Linked DNA regions of Homo sapiens: region 2 is linked to region 1. The links are contacts of gene promoters, found by promoter capture Hi-C in blood cells and fetal thymus (Javierre and others, 2016). All regions are on one chromosome and are shown on one strand. Each heading gives the region's core, a stretch centred on a gene start or on the middle of the fragment in contact. The rest is flanking DNA. Distances are from core to core; before and after follow the strand shown. Region 1 holds the start of GK (glycerol kinase). Region 2 overlaps DMD (dystrophin).

What was found. Contacts are between HindIII fragments. The CHiCAGO score rates a contact against its expected background, and 5 or more counts as called.
Region 2: a fragment that was not itself captured here is called in contact with the fragment with the promoter of GK in region 1 in 1 of 17 cell types (total B cells); the score reaches 5.1 in total B cells.

What each region holds. Positions count from the first base shown.
Region 1 is chrX:30,652,002-30,657,249 of GRCh38, forward strand. It overlaps GK (glycerol kinase), which reads left to right and starts at 1,422. Exons shown (of 21, transcript NM_001205019.2): 1 at 1,422-1,614. The coding sequence starts at 1,537. RefSeq lists a silencer at 1,092-1,511. The HindIII fragment of the contact is 2,269 bases long and covers 798-3,066 here.
Region 2 is chrX:31,237,049-31,241,878 of GRCh38, forward strand. All of the region lies in intron 63 of DMD (dystrophin), which reads right to left. Among named protein-coding and RNA genes, the nearest start is that of FTHL17, 170 kb to the left of the region's middle. The HindIII fragment of the contact is 1,966 bases long and covers 1,033-2,998 here.

The sequences.
Region 1 (5,248 bases), core at 172-2,671:
ATCTGGAACATTAGAATGTGAGGTCTAGACGGTGTTTAGGAAAATTTGCTTTCAGATCATGTGTGGTAAAACTATACAAACAGAGATGGACAAGTGACGTGGTGTAGAGCAAGGTAAGAAAGGAAAAAAAAAAAAAAGGAAAAGAAATGATGTTCCAGAACACAGAGATTTGGGAAAGGGATGGAAAGAAATGACAGTGGGTATAGCGGAGTGCTTTTAAAATTGATAGAGAGCATGGTGGGTTACAAAAGCAATTTAGTGATTTTCAATCAGCATTAAAAAAAAATGATATGCCATAGAATAAAAATACAGAATGCATACTGTGGAAGGACAAATATTGTTTTGGAAAGTTTTTCTATACATACATAAATGTATATTAGATGTATATAACATGTATTTACATGTGTAACAATTGTAACTACAAATGTGCTCCCCGCCCACACACACTGGAGCCTGGGTTTGTTTTGTAAACTGTTTCACAGTGTGGGTCTTGGTTCCAAGTTTGAAAGCCCTTAGAACACAGGATCCAGAAGGATCCGGGCAAGGTAAATTCAAGGTCAAGGGAGAGTCCCTTTTCTGTCCCCTGCCATCCAAAGCAGTTAATGGAGGGAGAGGAAATGGCGTGTGGGGGAGGGGACCGCAGAGTGAGGCCAAACGAGGAGCAAGGGCGCGTCAGGACGGAGTGGTGCCGGGCGCCTTCTGCCTGAATGGTCGATAGAGGAACTTGGGGAGGTTGATTTTGGGTGCTTTCCTTAAATGCTAAACCGAAAGAACTTCCGCGTTTCTTGTCCCTGAAAAGCTTGCAACGGTGAAGGATTCGCGTTGCTCCTTGAGGTGACCCTATATGGGGTCAATCCCAGCCAAAGGAATGATTACGATTACCAGGGGCCAGATGCAGGGAGGTGGGCGGGGCGTGGGAAACGCGGGAAGGCCGGGCCGGGTAGGTCCACACAGCGACTCACGTCGCTGCACGACTCTGCACAGCCCACTGGAGGGAACAAGCAGTTCTACACACTTTGAGACCCCTATGGAGGCGAGCCCCAGGACACTAGTGGAAGTGCGCTCTTTTCGCCGGCCAGGAGCGCTGCCTGCCAAAGGGCAGTACTCGTCTCCGCCCCATGCCATGCAGCTGGATGGCTCTGCTGTCCGCTCGCCGGGCCCCCACGTGACCTACTGCGCGGGCCGCCGCCTCCACCGCGCCCAGGCCCCGCCCCCGTGACGTCTCATCGCCCTCTGCCTGTCCGAGCGTTCGGCTCTTTTGCGTTTGCTGATTGGCCAGCCCAGGTGACAGCGCCCACCCCCACCCCCCCTGACACGCCCCTGGAGCCTTGGGGGTACGCGGTGGGGGGCGGGGCCTGGGCCGGAGGGGCGGGGTGAGAAGGCTGCGCGCGGGTAAAGGGGCCGCCTCGAGCGCGGTCCGAGCGTTCAGCGGACGCGCGCGGCCTCGATCTCTGGACTCGTCACCTGCCCCTCCCCCTCCCGCCGCCGTCACCCAGGAAACCGGCCGCAATCGCCGGCCGACCTGAAGCTGGTTTCATGGCAGCCTCAAAGAAGGCAGTTTTGGGGCCATTGGTGGGGGCGGTGGACCAGGGCACCAGTTCGACGCGCTTTTTGGTGAGCCCGGGGTGACATGTGAAGAGGCGCTGAGCCGGGGCGGGAGTCGGGGGACGGAGGGGGTGGCTGTTGTGTCCCCATCCCGCATCTCTCCGGCCCGGTGCCCCGGCCGCTGGGCAAGGAGGGAGGCCGGAACGGGACCTGCCACACTGGGGATGCCCCAGCCAGGCCTGGGGGACCTCGGCCTCTCATGACCCCCATGGCCGAGTTGAACAGTCGCAGTTTTGGTGGCGGAGCTGGGTCACCTACTAATGGGGTGACTCTTCCCCCAAAGGGAGCAGGGACTCTCCGAGCATCCGCGCAGAGCGGCCCGCTTGCAGTAGGGGACAGGTGGCCACATTGACGGCTACCGCGGTCTTCCCCAGGAACATTTGGCCTGCGAGACACAGGACGTCCTTGGATGGGGGGAAAGCTGTGTCACGGCTGTGGTAGCTAACACAGCGTCCTTTCCAGCAGTAGAACGAATAAAGTATTGGAGTGATGATGCGTTGTCATCCTCTCCCATAAAAATTGCAGAGGGTTGAATACTGGGGAGGGTGGCAGAACAAATTAGGAAACAGTCACACTACACTGGTTTTGCCATAATCTTTATTTAATTCCGAAGACTCGCAAATTTCAGTTCTGAGACTTTGCCCATTACAAACAAATGATTGTCCTTACTGTGCTTCACAGCATAATGCGACACGGAAATTCTGTTTCTCTTTTTATTTACCATGTGTGACAGCACAGTTTTACCACAAAAGATTGCTATTTAAGTGACTGCTGATTAATTTTTGTGCAATTAGTAAACTTGCTCTTAAAGTGACCTAGCACAGAGTTCAGTAAGATAATTTAAAAGTAATTGAGGCCGGGCGCGGTGGCTTACACGTGTAATCCCAACAGTTTGGGAGGCTGAGGCGGGTGGATTACCTAAGGTCAGGAGTTCGAGACCAGCCTGGCCAACCTGGCATAACAAAAATTAGCTGGGCGTGGTGGCGGGCGCCTGTAATCCTACTTACCCGGGAGGCTGAGGCAGGAGAATCACTTGGACCCGGGAGGCGGAGGTTGCAGTGAGCAGAGATCACACCACTGCACTCCAGCCTGGGCAATCCAGCCTAGCCAACAGAGCGAGACTCTGTCTCAAAAAAATAAAAATAAATAAAAAATAAATAAAAGTAATTGAAATGAATGCCTGCTGATAAAAGCCCATGCTTTCAATGGATATTTGACTAACTTGGCAAGTTGATGTAAATATTTAATGATTATTTAGCTCTTCACTTTACCGCAAATCATGTTTTCCTGTGTTATTTAGTATGTATATATCTGTACATATATACACATATGTGTATATTTATACATAGGCATTATACATACAATGTATATATTTTTTCAAAGTTCTGTCAGAGCTGGCACTTGACTAAAAACTGCATTTGTGCTTTGATCCTGACATATCTTTTTTTGTCTAAAGTGAGAAGCTTTCAGTCTAATTTTGGTTTGAATCTTATTTAATGACTTACCCTGGTTTGAGCTGCCAAGCATAGTTCCACTGTCTCTTGCACTGTTTATCTTTTGATCACCCAGGGCAGGTTTCACTTTGTCTTATATTCATAGAAATGTTTATAGAGTAATCCTGAATCATAAGAAAGTTTGCTTAACTGGATTTGATTAATACATAATATACACGATCATCATCTTCCCAACTTAAGAAAGACCATTAAGACATGTGCCAACTAACTGTGGGTTGATGTTTAAAGCCATATTCAAGAATTGCCCACACAAATGCCTGCAGGGACCAGGCAGGTAGAAGGGGGAAGGCAGACTAGAGAGATATCCAGGTCAAGGGGACAGCTAGTAGCTGCCAAGCAGGAACACAAGCCCAGTGCTGCCAGATCGTCAGATTAAAAGCAGGTAGTCTAGAGTTTTCAATGAAATCTTTCAATTCTTAAATGTTGGCAATTAGTTTATAAAGCACTGTGGGGGCCAAACCAAGCATGGCAGATGTTCTCAAGTTTATACAGCCTTTGCTCAATATGAAAATGGGTAAAATATTTCATAACTTTGTAGGCTTCCTTTAGGAGTCAGCTTGAACTGTCCATGCCTTCTTTTTGACTGTTCATTATTGCTGTCCATGTAGCCCAGCAATCTTCTTTATTCACTACAGGTTGTTCTTGGTCCCTCAGGTTTTGTTGCCTAAAAGACATCTTTCTACATCAATGAAGAAGAACTTGATCAACTTCATATTACCACAATTAATTGTTCAGTCTGTAACATGAACAACATGAGCCTTCAAAAATTGGCTCCTGTTTACTGGGTTCTGTGAGGCCTCGTCTCATTGCATGTAAGCTAAGATGCAAATTCAGAAGATTCTTATCCTGCTTAGAGAATGATTTTATAAAAGTTGATCAGTAAAATTGTCCTCTCCTTGAGAAACAACTATGAAAGCATGCTCTAGAGGCAAATAAAAAAACCGTAGAGATCCTGTGTGAAGTAGTGAAAAACTTAGGAATGGTTTAGCAAGGTGTTTTTTCCTTTGTTTATAAGGAGAGAGATTGCTAAACCACTCCCTGCAAAATGCAGATAAAAGATTTGCTGAATAAGTGCTTCAATCACAAGATGATTCCCGGGAGTTATTCCAGTCATATTACTCCACGTTGTAATTATGACTGAAAAATAATTGCTTACCTCTCAGGAAAGAATACAGTGGATAAGAACTGTCATAAGGAAGCTTATAAAATTAAAGATATTTAAGTAATTTCCTATTATTCATTAAATTTGCATATTTAACTTGACTTTCCTGAGACCAATAATCTCTGCAAGCTTTCTTCTTCTTTTTTCTCTGTTAGCAATATTAGCTTTCTCCCATAAGGAGAAAAGGCTTTATCTGTGCTCTTTCATCCCAGGGAAATGCCTCCACCTCTATCCCACATATCCGCTTCTCTACCTCTAAATAGTGGCTCAACTGCCACCTTTTAGTGTAAGTCTTCCTCAAACCGTTATTCAGAATTCCCCCCCCTTCCTACAGCACTTTTAAAAATACTTCTATTAATAGCTCTTATTACCTTCCCCCTTGTATTATAATCGTATACCTGCTGTACTTGGGAGCAGGGTCCTCCTTTTAAGCTATTTGTCATGTTGACCAAGATGTTTTATGAAATACAAAGATGAACAGCACTTAAAGACTGTTCAGAGAGTGTTTTATACATGTTTATTGAGTAGATTTTTATTTCTCTTTAATAAGTTAACTGAATTATTTTTTATTTTATTTTATTTTTTTGAGACAGAATCTCGCTCTGTAGCCCAGGCTGGAGTGCAGTGGCATGATCTCGGCTCACTGCAGCCTCTGCCTCCCAGGCTCAAGTGATTCTTCTGCCTCAGCCTCCTGAGTAGCTGGGATTACAGGCATGCGCCACCACGCCCGGCTAATTTTTACATTTTTAGTAGAGACGGGGTTTCACCATGTTGGTCAGGCTGGTCTCGAACTCCTGACGTCGTGATCCACCCACGTTGGCCTCCCAAAGTGCTGGTATTACAGGCGTCAGCCACCGTGCCCAGCCAAGTTAACTGAATTTTAATTCTGGTTTTCTTTCTTACCTCTTAAAACATTCTTGGGTACGTTTGGTTACTTAATTTCTTCTTACATTTTAGTAGTAGACAT
Region 2 (4,830 bases), core at 766-3,265, 590 kb after region 1:
GATGCCAAAATGAACCACAGTAGAAATTAACCTTAGTTACCATGGGAAAAGCAAACTGACCTTCTTGCAAAAAACATTTTTGCAACATTTCTGTCTTAGGCTGGTATGCATGCTTTCACCTCATTAGGAAAGATACATTGTTTGGGTTTTGTTGATGTTGCTGTTTGAGAGGTGCAAGAAGAGAATCTGTTGAGTCTTTATGCATGAATAATGAGTCCAAGATAGAACACAATTCAAGATATTTAAGCATCTAGGATCATAGTAAACTATGCGTATCTCTGCTTTTTGTATACTCTAGCATAACAGAAGAGGGGAACAGGTGGTATGACTCAAATTGCCCATGCATGCAGAAGCATGTGATAGAGAATGTTTTCTTTTCACTGTTATGTGTTAACTTTTCTGGAGACTAGATGCTAATGATGAGATCCTGCTGAAGACACTAATATGTAAATCATTCCTTAAACAAAATTACTTAGCAGCTGCAGTTATGATAAAATAAATCAATGGTAGGAGATTTTCATTAGATAATGGACTGCCTGGCCCTCTGACATAGACTGAGGTGCTTTTAATAAAGGATGCCTGAAGCGTTCCTGTTTACCCTCTGTGTATCTGGACAATACATTTGAATCTGGAACCAATATTACCGGTACTCCGGGAAAATACTCTTTTTATTTTATTTTTATTTTTTTTAGACGGAGTCTCATTCTCTCGCCCAGGCTGGAATGCAGTGGCATGATCTCGGCTCACTGCAACCTCTGCCTCCTGGGTTCAAGTGATGCTTGTGCCTCAGCCTCCCAAGTAGCTGGTATTACAGGTGCCCACCACCACGCCCAGCTAATTTTCATATTTTTAGTAGAGATGAGGTTTCACCATGCTGGCCAGGCTGGTCTCGAACTCCCGACCTCAAGTGATCTGCCTGCCTTGGCCTCCCAAAGTGCTGAGATTACAGGCGTGAACTATTGTGCCCAGCCTTGAAAAGACTCTTCTTTATCACCTCAAAACTATGCTGCATTTGGGAGTTGCTTGATATAAAGCTTTACCAATTTGAAGATTCAATCCAAGAATCGGGCAGACTCTGAGTTCCTCTGCCCACCTCATGGATGGCCCTGAAGTCACAGGAGTGAGTTTGCCTTCTTTCTCCTCTCAGTGGCAATGACCACGGATTCCTTGTCTTTTGGATTGCCTCCTACTTCATAGCAGACAGGGCTCATTCCCCCTTTCTCTGCCTCTCTGTTTCTCTCACTTCTCACCTCAGCTTTCTTTTCAACACACTGGATCTGACCCAGCTTTTATTCTCCTCAGAATCCTGGACAAAACTACTTGAGGATAAACCTAAAGCAGCCCTTTTTTCCTAAGATGTAGGTGACTCTTACTTCAGCTCTTTTTGTATGCAAGTATTCCCTGTAGAGCCAAAGAGAAAAACGGAAGTGACAGGCCGATGGCAGAAGGAATACTAACATTCGCTGAGCACTCAAGGGCAAATGTCGTGTGTACCTGATACCATCGAGTCCTTACAAGGCCCTGAGTTCTGTATTATCAGCTTTGTTAAAGATAAAATGAGGCTCACAAATGTTTGGTAACTTCCCTACGGTTGCATCCCAGAGCCTGCATTCAAGACCAAATCTTTCTGACACTCAAAGCCTCTGATGGCCTTCCCCGCTTCTCCGCTACAGAACAAATGTCTTTCCTTACCCAGTGTAATCCTAATTAGCACAAGGGTGAATGGGCAGTAGTACCCTCAGAAGAACCATGATACCGGGCAAGGAGCAGAGGGTATGGGGTGAGGCAGAAACCCTTGCACAAGGACCACAGGGAGGGAAACTGACCAGTCAATGGGATGAGGGAGTGACCAGGAATGTAACTAGACCAATAATGATGAAGTTCCCAGTCCTCCTTATCTAGAGAAGTTTGCTGAATAATCAACACCTGCAGTACGAGTTTCTACCATTTTTCCTACAAAAGTTTTTTGCTCCCATAGAAACATACAGCTGCTTTCTATTTACATGGTGCAGTATATCAGGCACTCTGAGGGTTAACTAAGATTCTGTGACTTAGGGACCTAACCACCATTTATAACACATTTCATTCCAAATTGTATGCAACTGACTTACAAATAAACTTGGAACAGAGCCCGAGGGTAAGTTTGGAAAGGCCTAAATCTTGTCTCAAGGTGGGAATGTGGTTCTTGCCTGACTGCTGAGAAATTTAATGGTTACTGGGCAACCAGGAATTAAATAATTTGGGAAATTTTAACTCTACCTTTTTCTTATGAGTATTCTTTAGGGGAATATATATACTTTTTATTAAGAAAATGAAATACATGGTGCCTTAGAAATAGAATCTCTAATTTAAAATTTTCATTTTCCAAATGAGAGAACTAAGGACTAGAAAGCTCTTAGTAACTTGTTCTGAATTCCCTAGTCAGCTAGGAGAAAAACATCAACTAGAATCCAAGTCTTTTTCTCCCCAAGTGTGTATCCCTTCCCTGAGCAAGCCACAGAACAAAAATATAAAGGCTCATTCTAAGTGGGACTTCAAGTCTACTCATTCAGCTTAAGGGCTCCCAATTGCTCCCAATTCGAACAGAGGGCCCGTGAATTTCTTTAACCTTGACAAACATCTGACTGGAAAACAAATTTTCCCAAAAGCAAGCAGGGTCTAATTTTCCCCTGTTAAGAGTGGTTTCTAGACCTTGGCATCTTCTTAAATTTTTAAGATTCAGCTCCTCCTAACCCGCTCTGACATATAAAGTCATAGTGTTGTGAAGCAGACTGTGTTATAGAAGGAAGTCAGGAAGTAAGGATGTGAACATTTCTTTTAAAGAGTAGCAGCAGCCTCCATCCTGAATGAAGAAGCCAGGTCTCAGACACTCCCTTAGACGTGCCGCCTTTAAGAAAGGACATCCTCTCTGTACTTCTGATGATCAGCTTAATTTCCCATTTGAATAATGATTTTTTTGTTTGCTTCTGAAGTCATGAGAAGCAGTTAGCATTTATGAAGCTTTGAATGGTTGTCCAATTTGACTTAAAGGCCACGAGATGCTGATGTTAAACTTCGTACATTTATTTCTGGGTTCCTGTCTTATTAAAACACTGACATAACTCTCCATAGTGCAAGTTTTCATTCACCATCTGTCAGTCTATTGCGCTACAGGAAAAAAAAAACTCCAGGTTAATTATGTAAAAGGTAATAGCATCAAAGAACAGAACATTGTGCCTATTATACTCTCAATGTGCAAAAATGGGCATATTTTTATGTGTATGTTTGTATATGCAAAAATATTTACAGAAGCAAACATAAAAACTATACTGTTAATTGTCTCTAGGAAGTAAAATTAGGGGATTGATACCAAGAGTGGTTGGAGACTTACTTTTCAATACTATCCTCTTACAATGTTTGATTTCTTAAAGTCATGTGCACTTTTTTTAATGATTGAGTATTAAATCTATCTATCTTCTTTTCAAGATTTCTCTATCTGGGATTTCTTCCAAATTCTTAGCTTCACCCGCTGTCCTTCAGGAGAGTACTATTGTACAATGGAAAAACTACTGGGTAGAGAAGAAAACTTAATGGGCTCTATTTATGTCTTTGCTGTAAAATAATAGTAATAATGGTTATCATTTATTAGGTGCTTACCCTATGTTTGCAATAAATAACATAAATTCTCAGGTTATCATTTATTAGGTGCTTACCCTATGTTTGCAATAAATAACATAAATTCTCATATAATTACCTTCAACTGTGATATCATTATTTCAATCCCATTTTATAAATAAGGAAACCAAAGGCCTAAGAAGTAAAATTCAAATCCATTTGACCCTAAAGCCCTTCCTCTTCATCACTATGGTCTCCCAATAAGCTTGGTCTAGTAACCTTAACTTTCCTAAGCTTCATTTTTTTTTTGTTCATTTTTAAAGGGAACAGTAATAGTACCTATTCCTAGGGCTGTTGCAAAACTAAGAGAGATAGTGTATCTCAAAAGCTCCAAAGAGGAGATGTATCTTGGATATATACTTGCTCAGTAAAAGTTAGGAACCTTTCTCTGCCCCTGTACTTCTTGTTATAAAGTATAATAAAAGTGCAAGTAATATTTTTATCATGCTGTGGACCAAACTCTTTCTTCGGTTCCCCTTTTCAAATGGCTTTAGAGTATTTCCTCTTCAAAATGCCACTGTCCCCTCTCAGGAAGAAAGTATAGCTGAGGGGCTAAATCGCTGGTTTAGGAGTTAAAAGTACACGTAAATCCCTGCTTTGCAATGTGAGAAAATTACCTATTTTCTCTGAGCCTCATCTGCACAATGGAGATACAAATATCTTTTACAGGGTTTTTGAAAGGATTAATGAGAAATATATGCTTATGGTATGGCAGCACATACATTTATATGAGCCACCAAAAATAAATTTTTCTAAGAAGAGAAATTGTAAATAAACCCATAAGTATGTAATTCAATCAAATTCATATCTATTCCCTGTTGCTCCGCTCAGTTTGCAATTTCCTCTTTTCCTCAATGGTATCACCATTCTCTGTGTCACCACGCCTTCAAATTTTGAAGACATATAACTCCCTTTTTCTTTAAAACCTGTCCAATCTGTGATTACCTTCTGGCAATTCTACCTTGTTAAGAAAAACCTCTGGAGTCACGTTCCCTTTTCCTTCCCCCATTGCTATCCTAAGACCCTCATCATGTCAATTACCTCAAAACAAAACGAAATAATCTCTCCCCTCTCTAACTGTCCTTAAACTCACCCACCAAATTCCTATTCCAAAACACAGAAGACGGACTTCATTATTTCTCTTTTCTGAAGATTTAACAATGTTTTTCCCATTGC